2 separate regions of the Homo sapiens genome follow, and region 1 is linked to region 2. Evidence: promoter capture Hi-C in human tissues and cell types (Jung and others, 2019). All regions are on one chromosome and are shown on one strand. Each heading gives the region's core, a stretch centred on a gene start or on the middle of the fragment in contact. The rest is flanking DNA. Distances are from core to core; before and after follow the strand shown.

Region 1 (5,695 bases), core at 727-3,226, 140 kb before region 2:
AGGCTGAGGCTGGAGAATTGCTTGAACCCGGGAGGCGGAGGTTGCAGTGAGCCAAGATTGCGCCATTGCACTCTAGCTTGGGCAACAAAAGCAAAATTCTGTCTCAAAAAAAAAAAAAAAAAAAAATGAAAAGAAAAAGAGAAAAGAACCAGAGAATCAAACACATTGTCCACAAAACAGCCCTGCTTCTGCACAAGCAGGTGATGGGGGCGCCATTTTCCTGAAACATCCCCCTTCCTATTCTAAACCTTCAAGTGCAGTCTCTTTGTACGCTTCTGTTCATTGGGACCACAAGTCTGCCCTCTGCTGGTTAAGGGACATGCAAGCATTATTACAACTGGGAAGGGGACCAGTGCTGTGGCCCCTTAACCGACATTTTTCCCAGAGGGGCAGTGATGTAGGCAGTAATGTACTTACCTCCTAACTCATAGAGACTTTATCTTAAGAGTCAGAGCTGTTGAGTGGCCGATAAAACATTCTCTACCTTCATGGGTCACAGATAACATCTACACGCCGCATATCCCAGGGAATTCTAAAATCAAGCTGGTGTTATCACACCTATGGCTAAAAGTCCTCTGAAACATCATCATATAAGTTAATCTCAAAGAGAAAACATAAATAAACCAAGGAAACATAAAAACAGTCATTGAAAGATACAAACCTGAGTCTGAATCCTGGTCTTTCTATTTACTAGCTCCGTGAGCTGGAACGAGTACTCAACCTCTTTTTTTTTTTTTTTTTTTTTTTTTTTTGAGACACGGTCTGAACTCTGCTTCCTAGGCTGGAGTGCAGTGGGGCGATCTCAGCTTACTGCAACCTCCGCCTCCTGAGCTCAAGGGATCCTCCCATCTCAGCCTCCCAAGTAGCTGAGACTACACACAAGCACCACCACGCCTGGCTAAGTTTGTATTTTTTGTAGAGACGGGGTTTTGCCATGTTTCCCAGACTTGTCTCAAACTCCTGGGCTTGAGCGATCTGTCCATCTCAGCCTCCGAAAGTGCTGGGATTACAGGCATAAGCCACTTCGCACTGTTATTCAACTTCTCTAAACCCCAGTTTCCTCAACTGTAAAATGAGGCTGTCTATAATTACATCAGATAATTGTTGAAAAGATTAAATGAGATCATTAATCAGGTAGCACAGTGCAGTATCTGGCACATTGTAAGCATTCTTTAAATCAGGGGTGTCCCGTCTTTTGGCTTCCCTGGGCCACATTGTTAGGATTGTCTTGGGCCACACATAAAATATACTAAACACTAACAATAGCTGATGTGCTTCAGCAAAAAAAAAAAAAAGGCCAGGCACCGTAATTTACAGCTGTAATCCCAGCACTTTGGGAGGCCGAGGCAGGCAGATTACCTGAGGTCAGGAGTTCAAGACCAGCCTGGCCAAGATGGTGAAACCCCATCTCTACTAAAAATACAAAAATTAGCCGGGCGTGGTGGCACATGCCTGTAGTCCCAGCTATTCAGGAGGCTAAGGCAGGAGCATCACTTGAACCCAGGAGGCAGAGATTGCAGTGAGCCAAGATCATGCCACTGCACTCCAGCCTGGGCAACAGAGTGAGATTCCGTCAAAAAAAAAGCAAAGACATCTCATAATGTTTTAAGAAAGTTTACAAATTTGTGTTGGACCACATTCAAAATCGTCCTGGGCTGCATGCAACCCACGGGCCACGGGTTGGACAAGCTTGCTTTAAATGTTAGCTTAAATATTTTTCTCTTTCAATTCATTTTATTCTAGAAGCTAGAAATCTTTGCTCACAGTGGCGCAGTAGGAAAAGCCAGTGTTGGAGAAGAGAAGTGTGTATTGAGACCGACAGCTTCATCACCTGTGGTCCTCAACCAGGGGCAATTTTGTGTGCCCAGGGGGTTTTGGCAATGTCTGGAGACATTTTTTGGCTGCCACACCCGGGGACTGGTGCTGCTAGAATCTGATGAGTAGAAGCCAGGCATGCTGCTAAATAGCCTTCAATGCATAGATCAGTTCCTACAACAAGGACTTATCCAGCCCAAAATGTCAATAGTGCTGAGATTGGGAACCCTCTCCCGGCCTCACGAGAAGCGTCTTCAGCTTTAACACTGAAGACCTGAGTCCTTGGCCAGCCACTGTATACAATCAAAGCTGTGCTTCTCTAAAGTTGAAAACTCATTTAGTAATGCCAGCTGTGAGCACTGTGAACAGGTATGGCACTAAGCAATGGTGACTCTGCTGAGTTCCAGAACTTTCTATCTCTTACTAACCAGTAGCATTTCTGCTTACAGCTTGGCTTTCCAGATGACAATAAAAATAGAAGCAAAGTATCTGGATTAAAAAGCCACCCAAAGTCAAGGGGTCAAGGCTCCATATATATATATATTTTTTAATCATAATACACATAAAACTTACCATCTTAACCATTTTTAAGTGTACAGTTCAGTAACACTAAGTACATTCACATTGTTGTGAAATCAATATCCAGAACTCTCATCTTGCAAAACTGAAACCCTATACCCATTAGACAAGAACACCTCCATTTTCCACCCCAAGGACTCTCAATATTTTCATAAGATAAAATACTCACAGAAAAACAAATTGAAACAAAACAAAACACAAACCGACCAACAAAAACCCAGAAGGTTTTTTGTTTGTTTGTTTTTTTTTTTTTGAGACAGAGTCTTGTTTTGTCACCCAGGCTGGAGTGCAATGGTGCCACCACAGCCCACTGTAGCCTCAACCTCCAGGACTCAAGCGATCGTCTCACCTCAGCCTCCCAAGTAGCTGGGACTACAGGCATGTGCCACCACACCCGGCTAATTTTTAAACATTTTTTGTAGAGATGGGGTCTCACTATGTTACTCAGGCTGGTCTCAAATTCCTGGGCTCAAGCTTCCTGAGTAGCTGGGATTACAGGTGCCCGCCACCATGGCCGGCTAATTTTCATATTTTTAGTAGAGGCGAGGTTTCACTATGTTGGCCAGGCTGGTCTCGAACTCCTGACCTCATGTATTCCGCCCACCTCGGCCTCCCAAAGTGCTGGGATTACAGGCGTGAGCCACCACGCCCAGCCACAAAATATTTTTTAAAATTATCTGGGCATGGTAGTGCACGCCTGTAGTCCCAGCTACTTGAGAGGCTGAGGTGGGAGGATTGCTTGAGCCCAGGATTTGGAGGCTGCAGTTAGCTATGATCATGCCACTGCACTCCAGCCTGGGTGACAGAGCAAGACCCAGTCACTAAAAATAAAAATTAAAAAATAAATAAATAAAAGGGGCCCTGGAGAGGTACCTCAGCCCTTCTGCCATATGAGGAAACAGAAGACAGACGTAAACCAAAAAGCCAGCCCTCACCAGACACCACATCTGCCAGCGCCATGGTCTTGGAGTTGTCCAGCCTCCAGAACTGTGAGGAATAAATGTCTGTTGTTGAAGCCACCCAATCTATAGTCTTTGGTTATGGCAGCCCAAACGGACTAAGACACGAAGCTTACCAAATGGCAGAGCCATGTGCTTCCCGAGATCAGCGATGCTGAGGAGAAGGCTGATCTACCCCAGTTCAGGAAGAGGGACTTAGGGCTTTCCTTGGCAATGTTCTGCTCCTGGGGGGTCCTTGGTACTCAAATCTGAACTCTGTTCCTCTGCCTATCAGTGAATGAAAACATCTCCTGGCTTCTCCACTTCCATCATTTTTTTGTTTCCAGCTCTTTCTCTCCTCCCCGTTTTAGCATACAGTAGTCCCCTCTTATTCACAGGGGATATGTTCCAAGATCCCCAGCGGATGCCTGAAGCCTCAGATAGTACCCATCCCTATGTATATTGTTTTTTCCTACAGACTACATGCCTATGATAAAGTTTAATTTATATATTAGGCACAGTAAGCAATTAACAATAAGTAATAATAAATAGGACAATTATAACAATGTGCCAGCATCACTACTCTTGCAAGTTGGGGCCAATGTTAAGTACTACAAGGGTTTCTTGAACACAAACACGGTGATACCATGACAGTAGCTCTGACAACCAAGATGGCTAAGTGACTAACCAGCAGGTAGAGCCTGGATGCGCTGGACAAAGGGAGGATTCACGTTGCAGACGGGATCAAGCTTACAGCGAGAGATCTCATCACGCTGCCCAGAATGGTGCACAGCTTAAAACTCATGGATTATCCCCTCTCCCTCTCCCCACGGTCTCCCTCTCCCTCTCCCTCTCCCCACGGTCTCCCTCTCCCTCTCTTTCCACGGTCTCCCTCTGATGCTGAGCCGAAGCTGGATGGTACTGCTGCCATCTCGGCTCACTGCAACCTCCCTGCCTGATTCTCCTGCCTCAGCTTGCGGAGTGCCTGTGATTGCAGGCACGCGCCGCCACGCCTGACTGGTTTTCGTATTTTTTTGGTGGTGACGGGGATTCGCTGTGTTGGCCGGGCTGGTCTCCAGCTCCTAACCGCGAGTGATCCGCCAGCCTCGGCCTCCCGAGGTGCCAGGATTGCAGACGGAGTCTCGTTCACTCAATGCTCAATGGTGCCCAGGCTGGAGTGCAGTGGCGTGATCTCGGCCCGCTACAACCTCCACCTCCCAGCAGCCTGCCTTGGCCTCCCAAAGTGCCGAGATTGCAGCCTCTGCCCGGCCCCCACCCCGTCTGGGAAGTGAGGAGCGTCTCCGCCTGGCCGCCCATTGTCTGGGATGTGAGGAGCCCCTCTGCCTGGCTGCCCAGTCTGGAAAGTGAGGAGCGTCTCTGCCCGGCGGCCATCCCATCTAGGAAGTGAGGAGCGCCTCTTCCCGGCCGCCATCACATCTGGGAAGTGAGGAGCGTCTCTGCCCGGCCGCCCATCGTCTGAGATGTGGGGAGCACCTCTGCCCTGCCGCCCCGTCCGGGATGTGAGGAGCATCTCTGCCCGGATGCCCCGTCTGAGAAGTGAGGAGTCCCTCCGCCCGGCAGCCGCCCCGTCTGAGAAGTGAGGAGCGTCTCCGCCTGGCAGCCACCTCGTCCAGGAGGGAGGTGGGGGGGGTCAGCCCCCCGCCCGGCCAGCCGCCCCGTCCGGCAGGTGAGGGGCGCCTCTGCCCGGCCGCCCCTACTGGGAACTGAGGAGCCCCTCTGCCCGGCCAGCCGCTCCGTCCGGGAGGGAGGTGAGGGGGTCAGCCCCCCACCCGGCCAGCCGCCCCGTCCGGGAGGGAGGTGGGGGGGTCAGCCCCTCGCCCGGCCAACCGCCCTGTCTGGGAGGGAGGGAGGTGGGGGGGTCAGCCCCCCGCCCGGCCAGCTGCCCTGTCCGGGAGGTGAGGGGCGCCTCTGCCCGGCCGCCCCTACTGGGAAGTGAGGAGCCCCTCTGCCCGGCCAGCCACCCCGTCCAGGAGGGAGGTGGGGGGGGTCAGCCCCCGTCCGGCCAGCCGCCCCGTCGGGAGGTGAGGGGCGCCTCTGCCCGGCCGCGCCTACTGGGAAGTGAGGAGCCCTCTGCCCGGCCACCACCCCGTCTGGGAGGTGTACCCAACAGCTCATTGAGAACAGGCCATGATGACAATGGCGGTTTTGTAGAATAGAAAGAGGGGAAAGGTGGGGAAAAGATTGAGAAATCGGATGGTTGCCGTGTCTGTGTAGAAAGAGGTAGACGTGGGAGACTTTTCATTTTGTTCTGTACTGAGAAAAATTCTTCTGCCTTGGGATCCTGTTGATCGGTGACCTTACCCCCAACCCTGTGCTCTCTGAAACATGTGCTGTATCCACTC
Region 2 (5,732 bases), core at 1-2,500:
CTTTGCAGTCCTCGGGTTTCTTGTCCTCAAGGGGACAAGGCTTCAAGGCCTGCTTCAGTTTCCCACAGAGGGAGGAGGGGCCCTCACTCTGAGCTGGGGAATGGAGCTGGGGCCTCTGAGGACTATGACTGCCTCTGGGCTCCTGATCCCTGGGGACTAGACCCAGAGTCCTCGAAACTTCCTCTTCTTCCAAGCCTGCCGGCTCCTTGACGTGGCTGTTCACATTCTGGGAGGCAGGGGGCCCCAGCCCACTCTGGCCACCTGCTGCCTGTCCCACTGAAGTTTTGGGCTTGAAGCTCTGGCACAGCTCTACGGCCTCTGGCACTCGCAACTCCCTGGCTGCCAGGAGCACCTGATCCCGGTTCCCTGAGGTGAGAGCGAGGTGACCAGTGTAGAAAAAGTCCAACAAGAGGCCAAAGATCTCAGCGAAGCCAGCAGGGAGGACGACACTGCCCCCTGAGCCATCCCCGTAGAGGCTCTGGAAAAAGTGACTGCAGCAGGCAAGGACACTCCAGTGTGCCTTAAACACCAGGCCCCCCACGTCCAGAGTGGCGTCGCAGTACTGGCCCTTCTCCCGCTGCTTGTTGAGCTCCTGCAGAACCCTCACACTGTGCTGGACGAAGGAGCCGTCCATGGTCTGGAGGGCAGGGAGGCAGAAGTGACACCCCGGCCAGCCTAAGCGAGGGTATGCAAGAGAAAGCTCCTGGAGTCAAGAGAGAGAAACGGGAAGTTGGCCTCTACTCAAATAATCATATTTATCAGCACGAGGGCTTGGGTCAGGGTGAGGGGTGCACGCGGAGGGCTGGAACACACTGACAGCCTCCCGGGGGCCGGGGGCCATATTGGATTGGCCAGGGGGGATGCTGGATGGGGGGCCAGGGTCGTGAAGAAGGGCCTGGTGAGAAAAATCCAAGTTTGGGGAAAGGAGACATGGGATGAGAGCGAACGGACTGGCCCGGCACAGTGAGAGGATCCCGGACGGCGGAGGGCGGCAGCCGGGGACAGGTGAGCGAAGCCCACGCCGCGCCCACAGGTCCCGAGCGGCCGAGCGGAAGGCAGCCACGGCGGCCCGCAGCCCCTCCCTCCCTCACCCCGCGCCCTCCTCACCCAGGCAGGTCCTCCCTGAGCTGGCCCCACTGGCCCCCTGCTCCGTCGCCTCCACAGCCCACGAACCTAGTGCCCGGCTATGCGTACCCCGCCGACAGTGCGGAGACTCCACCGTCTCCGCGCCGGACGTGACGTCAAAGCGTGCAGGCCAGGAGGTGCGCCTCGGAAGCGTAGAGCTTCTAGCTCCGGCCCCCGAGGGCGGGGCCCCGCAGAGAACGGCCAATGGGATGCGGGGACGACGCCTCGCCCTGTTCTTTTGGCGCTGGGCCCGCCTCCGGAGTTGCCTAGCAACGTCAATCTGGGCGGTCAGCCTTTTCCAGGCTCTGGGTTCAGACTTGAATCCGTTACACCTCACACTCTCCCACGACAGGAGACCAGATACGCATTTCACTTCTTTATTGGCAGCCCGGAGCCTGGTCTAGGCTCTCCCAGGCGCTTACACGTCCCAACCCCAGACCGCGATGCCCAAAGACCTCCCGGACACCCCCGGCCTGCTCGACCTTCGACCCTCAGGGCAGAGAAGGCTGCCAGCCGTGCCTGCTGACCCACTGGTCAGGTGGAGCCGCAGCGCCTCGTGTAGTCCTGAATGGAGGCCTGGAAGTGCTCTGTGCTGTTGAGGTCTGGGCGGCAGAGGATCACGTAGCACTTAGGCAGAAAATACCCACCGAAGCCGCTGCTCAGGCTGCTCAGCCCAGCCATCATGTTGGCCGCAGGCAGGTACTTGCCGTCGTAGACGCTGGCCGTGGTGAAGAAGGCGATCCAGGACACGAAGTTGAAGAGCAGGCTGAAGGTGACACATTTGGCCTCGTTGTAGTTCTCTGGCAAGTCCTTACCCAGGTAGCTGCAGGCAAAGGCACTGATGGAGAGGAGGCCATTGTAGAGGAAGGCCAGTATGAAGCCCAGGGAGTTGGTCTCTGTGCACTCAAGCATCACCAGATGGGGGAAGCGCTGGTATTCCCTAGCAGGCAGTGGGGTCCACACCACCAGCCAAGTTAGACAGATAAGCAGCTGGGCCGCTGAGCTGATCATCACAAACAGGCCAGCACCGTGGTTTTGGACCCAGGCGTGGTAGAATGTAGGTACCTTGGTGGAAAACTTGAAGATGATGATTAGTTGGAATGAGCGAACTGTCAGGCAGGACAGGAAGATGGTGAAACCAAGGGCAAAGAGGGCCTGGCGTAGCAAGCACGCAGGCCTTGTGGGTTCCCCAAAGAAGCCATAGAGGCTGCCACTACCTGCTGCCAGGGAGCCCAGCATAAGAAAGCACAGGCGGCCCCCTGCTGACCTCACCACAGGGGTGTCTAGGTGCCAGGCAAACAGGCCAGCAGTCCCAAGCAGCAGCAGCAGCAGCAGCGTGTTAGCTGCCAGCAGCACCCAAGAGGTGTGCTCACGCAAAGCCAAAAACACCACAGTGCGCGGGAAGCAGGTCTGGCTTCCCTCAGGTGCCCACTCTTCTTTCCCACAAGGCTGGCATCTGTAGAGGTCTGAAAGGGAAGGCCAAGAAGGTTCCTGAGAGCCAGATGAGCAGAGTAGGAATAGGAAATAGGGGCCTGCAAGATACTGGGAGAATTGTACCAGGGCAGCTAGACTATACTAGGCATAGTGGGATGGGGGTAGCCGGGAGTGGGGCCTGAGGCCACGCATTTCCTCAAAATGCCTGTGTTAATTACAGACTCTGGAGACACACAGGTCGGTTCTGTATGGCTCATGATCCCATGAGGGTTTTGCAAACCCTAGGGAGGACCTTAACCTGGTAGCTCTGCCCACATACCAGAGAGGTTACGATCTGATGGGAGCAGCCTGCTCCCAAGGGAGGGCATTGTAACCCCTCTCTCTTGCCAGCATTTCCATGAACCACTTTCCTGAGCTGCTGCTCTGTGGTTTCTCTGAGTCCTGACCCTCTGAGGACAGAAGGGAAGTATTCCTGTCCCTACAGAGATGGTGAAAGGAAAGAATGTGGCCCCTGGACACCAACTAAGGACCTGAGTCCTTAGCTACCTAATTTGCTCTCTGTTCTTGACCTTGCATTTCTGGATGGGGAATGCTGTTTTTTTCTCTGCTGCAGACACGCTAGTATCTGTATTCAGGCCAAGCTGTTCAAGGAGCTAGCTGTCTTTGGCATGGGCAACAGAAGGGACAGTAGGACAAGAGGGCACAAAGGGAACAATAGCTATATTCATTTAGAGAAAGAGGTTGAATTCAGGATACGACTGCTTTTGTAGGAGTTGTGATGACAGCTCTCTAACAGAGGACACACCTCAGTCTAAGGCTTTCAGTTGGCTAATTCTTTCTTTCTTTCTTTTTTTTTGAGACAGAGTTTTTCTCTTGTCGCCCAGGCTGGAGTGCAATGGTGCAATCTTGGCTCACTGCAACCTCCGCCTCCCGGGTTCAAGCAATTCTCCTGCCTCAGCCTCCCGAGTAGCTGGAATTACAGGCACACGCCACAACGCCCGGCTAACTTTTTTTGTATTTTTAGTAGAGATGGGGTTTCACCATGTTGGTCAGGCTGGTCTCGAACTCCTGACCTCAGGTGATCCACCCACCTCGGCCTCCCAAAGTGCTGGGATTACAGGTGTGAGCCACCGCGCCCGGCCTCCTTTCTTTTTTTGGGGGGACGAATTCTCGCTTTGTGGTCCAGGCTGGAATGCATCTTGGCTCACTGCAACCTCCGCCTCCTGGGTTCAAGTGATTCTCCTGCCTCAGCCTCCCGAGTAGCTGGGATTACAGGCACGCGCCACCACACCCAGCTAATTTTTTATATTTTTGGTAGAGATGGGGTTTCACCATGTTGGCCAGGCTGGTCTCGAACTCCCGACCTCAAGTGATCCACCCGCCTCAGCCTCCCAAAGTGCTGGGATTACAGGCATGAGCCACCGCACCCAGTGGCTGATTCTCTTGATCAGAATTCTGTCTGGTAGCAGGTGTCCTCCAACCTGAAGCTAACTGGCAGCCCAGTGACTGGGCCTTGGTTCTGGGGCAGGGCACATGGGGCCCAAGGGAGGCCCTCCCTCCACCGTGCAGCCCCCGGGAGTGCTGGGTAGCTCGCCTGCTCCATTGCCCACTCACCACTCTTGTTGAGGAAGGTCCCAGCCCCACAGGGCACACACTCAAAGCAGCAGTGATGGAAACCCGTAACCACTCGCTGGTGCCCTTCAAGACAGTCGCTGGAACACACAGACTTAGGCACCTGTAAGAAGCCAGAGGGGCCACACGTAGGGGCCCAAGTCAAAGGACAGCTCACATGTGGAACAGAAAACAGAATCTCTGTGCATCTGCCCTCAGGGCTCACTCCCAGGGCAGGGCCCCTGGTCGTGTGAACTTCCGCCCCAGGGCATCTGCACACTCGCCTACGGAGTGTCTTCCCTGCTTCCCTGGCCAGGATGGGTAGAGTGGTGGCAGCTGGACCCCTGGGGCCCCCCTCCTGCTCCCTGTACACTGTGTCAGCATCACCCCCAGGCTCTAGGTTGCCCATAAGCCAGTTACATGGTGAGTAGCCACATCCCCATTACCTGGTTGTCCTTTCCGTGCCACTGGATTTTGGTCTCATTTATGTTTAGCTGAACTGGAGACCATGTGGAGGAACCGAGGACCGTGAAGGTCCACTTGGGTCCATTCCAGTCCCAGGCAATTATGTTATAGCTACTGAGGGGATCTCTGTTGTCATTAAACGCCACAGTGTCCTTGTGTAGAAGGAAATGCACCTTGTGGATCTGCTCCAAAAGCTGAAAGAAACGCGTATCATGAAGCCACCACAGACAGCACAGACCCACATGGTCCCAGAAGCAAGGGCCTGGGGCCTTCCTGGGTTTCCGTCCTGGTGGTTTCAGCCCATCAGGAAGGTCTCGTCCCTTCCTTCTTAGGAAGCCCCTCAATCTTCCCCACCAACCTCCTGAGAGGAGGCCTCTAACAAACACTCCTTTACAGACAGTTTTAGCCCTGGATCTTATCACTTGACACTTCCAAGACACAGTGGGTGAGAGAAGGCAAGGATCAGAGAGAAAGATCTGTCTAAGAGAAGAGAGCTAATGCCTGTAATCCCAGCACTTTGGGAGGCCGAAGCAGGAGGATCACTTGATGCCAGGAGTTCGAGACCAGCCTGGCCAACATGGTGAAACCCCATCTCTACTAAAAATACAAAAATTAGGCCGGGTGCGGTGGCTCACGCCTGTAATCCCAGCACTTTGGGAGGACGAGGTGGGCGGATGACAAGGTCAGGAGATTGAGACCATCCTGGCTAACATGGTGAAACCCCGTCTCTACTCAAAATACAAAAAAAATTAGCTGGGCGTGGTGGCGGGCGCCCGTAGTCCCACCTACTTGGGAGGCTGAGGCAGGGGAATGGAGTGAACCTGGGAGGCGGAGCTCACAGTGAGCCAAGATCGCACCACTGCATTCCAGCCTGGGCAACAGAGCGAGACTCTATCTCAAAAAAAAAAAAAAGAAAAGAAAAATTATCCAGGCATGGTGGTGGGTGCCTGTAATCCCAGCTACTCAGGAGGCCGAGGCAAGAGAATCACTTGAACCCAGGAGGTGGAAGTTGCAGAGAGCCGAGATCGCATCACTACACTGCAGCCTGGGTGACAGAGCCAGACTGTCTCAAAAAACAAAACAAAACAAAACAAAAA

Evidence for each region. Contacts are between HindIII fragments. The study calls those that stand out against the background at their distance.
Region 1: a fragment that was not itself captured here is called in contact with the fragment with the promoter of ZBTB48 in region 2 in 1 of the 25 tissues and cell types used here (spleen).

What each region holds. Positions count from the first base shown.
Region 1 is chr1:6,714,783-6,720,477 of GRCh38, reverse strand. No RefSeq gene overlaps it. Among named protein-coding and RNA genes, the nearest start is that of LINC01672, 7.1 kb to the left of the region's middle. RefSeq lists an enhancer at 5,368-5,695. The HindIII fragment of the contact is 3,595 bases long and covers 179-3,773 here.
Region 2 is chr1:6,575,512-6,581,243 of GRCh38, reverse strand. ZBTB48 (zinc finger and BTB domain containing 48) reads right to left here and starts at 1,250. Exons shown (of 11, transcript NM_005341.4): 1 at 1,108-1,250; 2 at 1-703. The coding sequence starts at 634. It overlaps TAS1R1 (taste 1 receptor member 1), which reads right to left. Exons shown (of 6, transcript NM_138697.4): 4 at 4,617-4,829; 5 at 4,174-4,294; 6 at 1,489-2,591. The coding sequence ends at 1,660. LOC107984912 (a long non-coding RNA gene) reads left to right here and starts at 1,811. Exons shown (of 3, transcript XR_002958250.1): 1 at 1,811-1,897. RefSeq lists a silencer at 986-1,115 and an enhancer at 1,167-1,866. The HindIII fragment of the contact is 13,841 bases long and covers 1-5,732 here.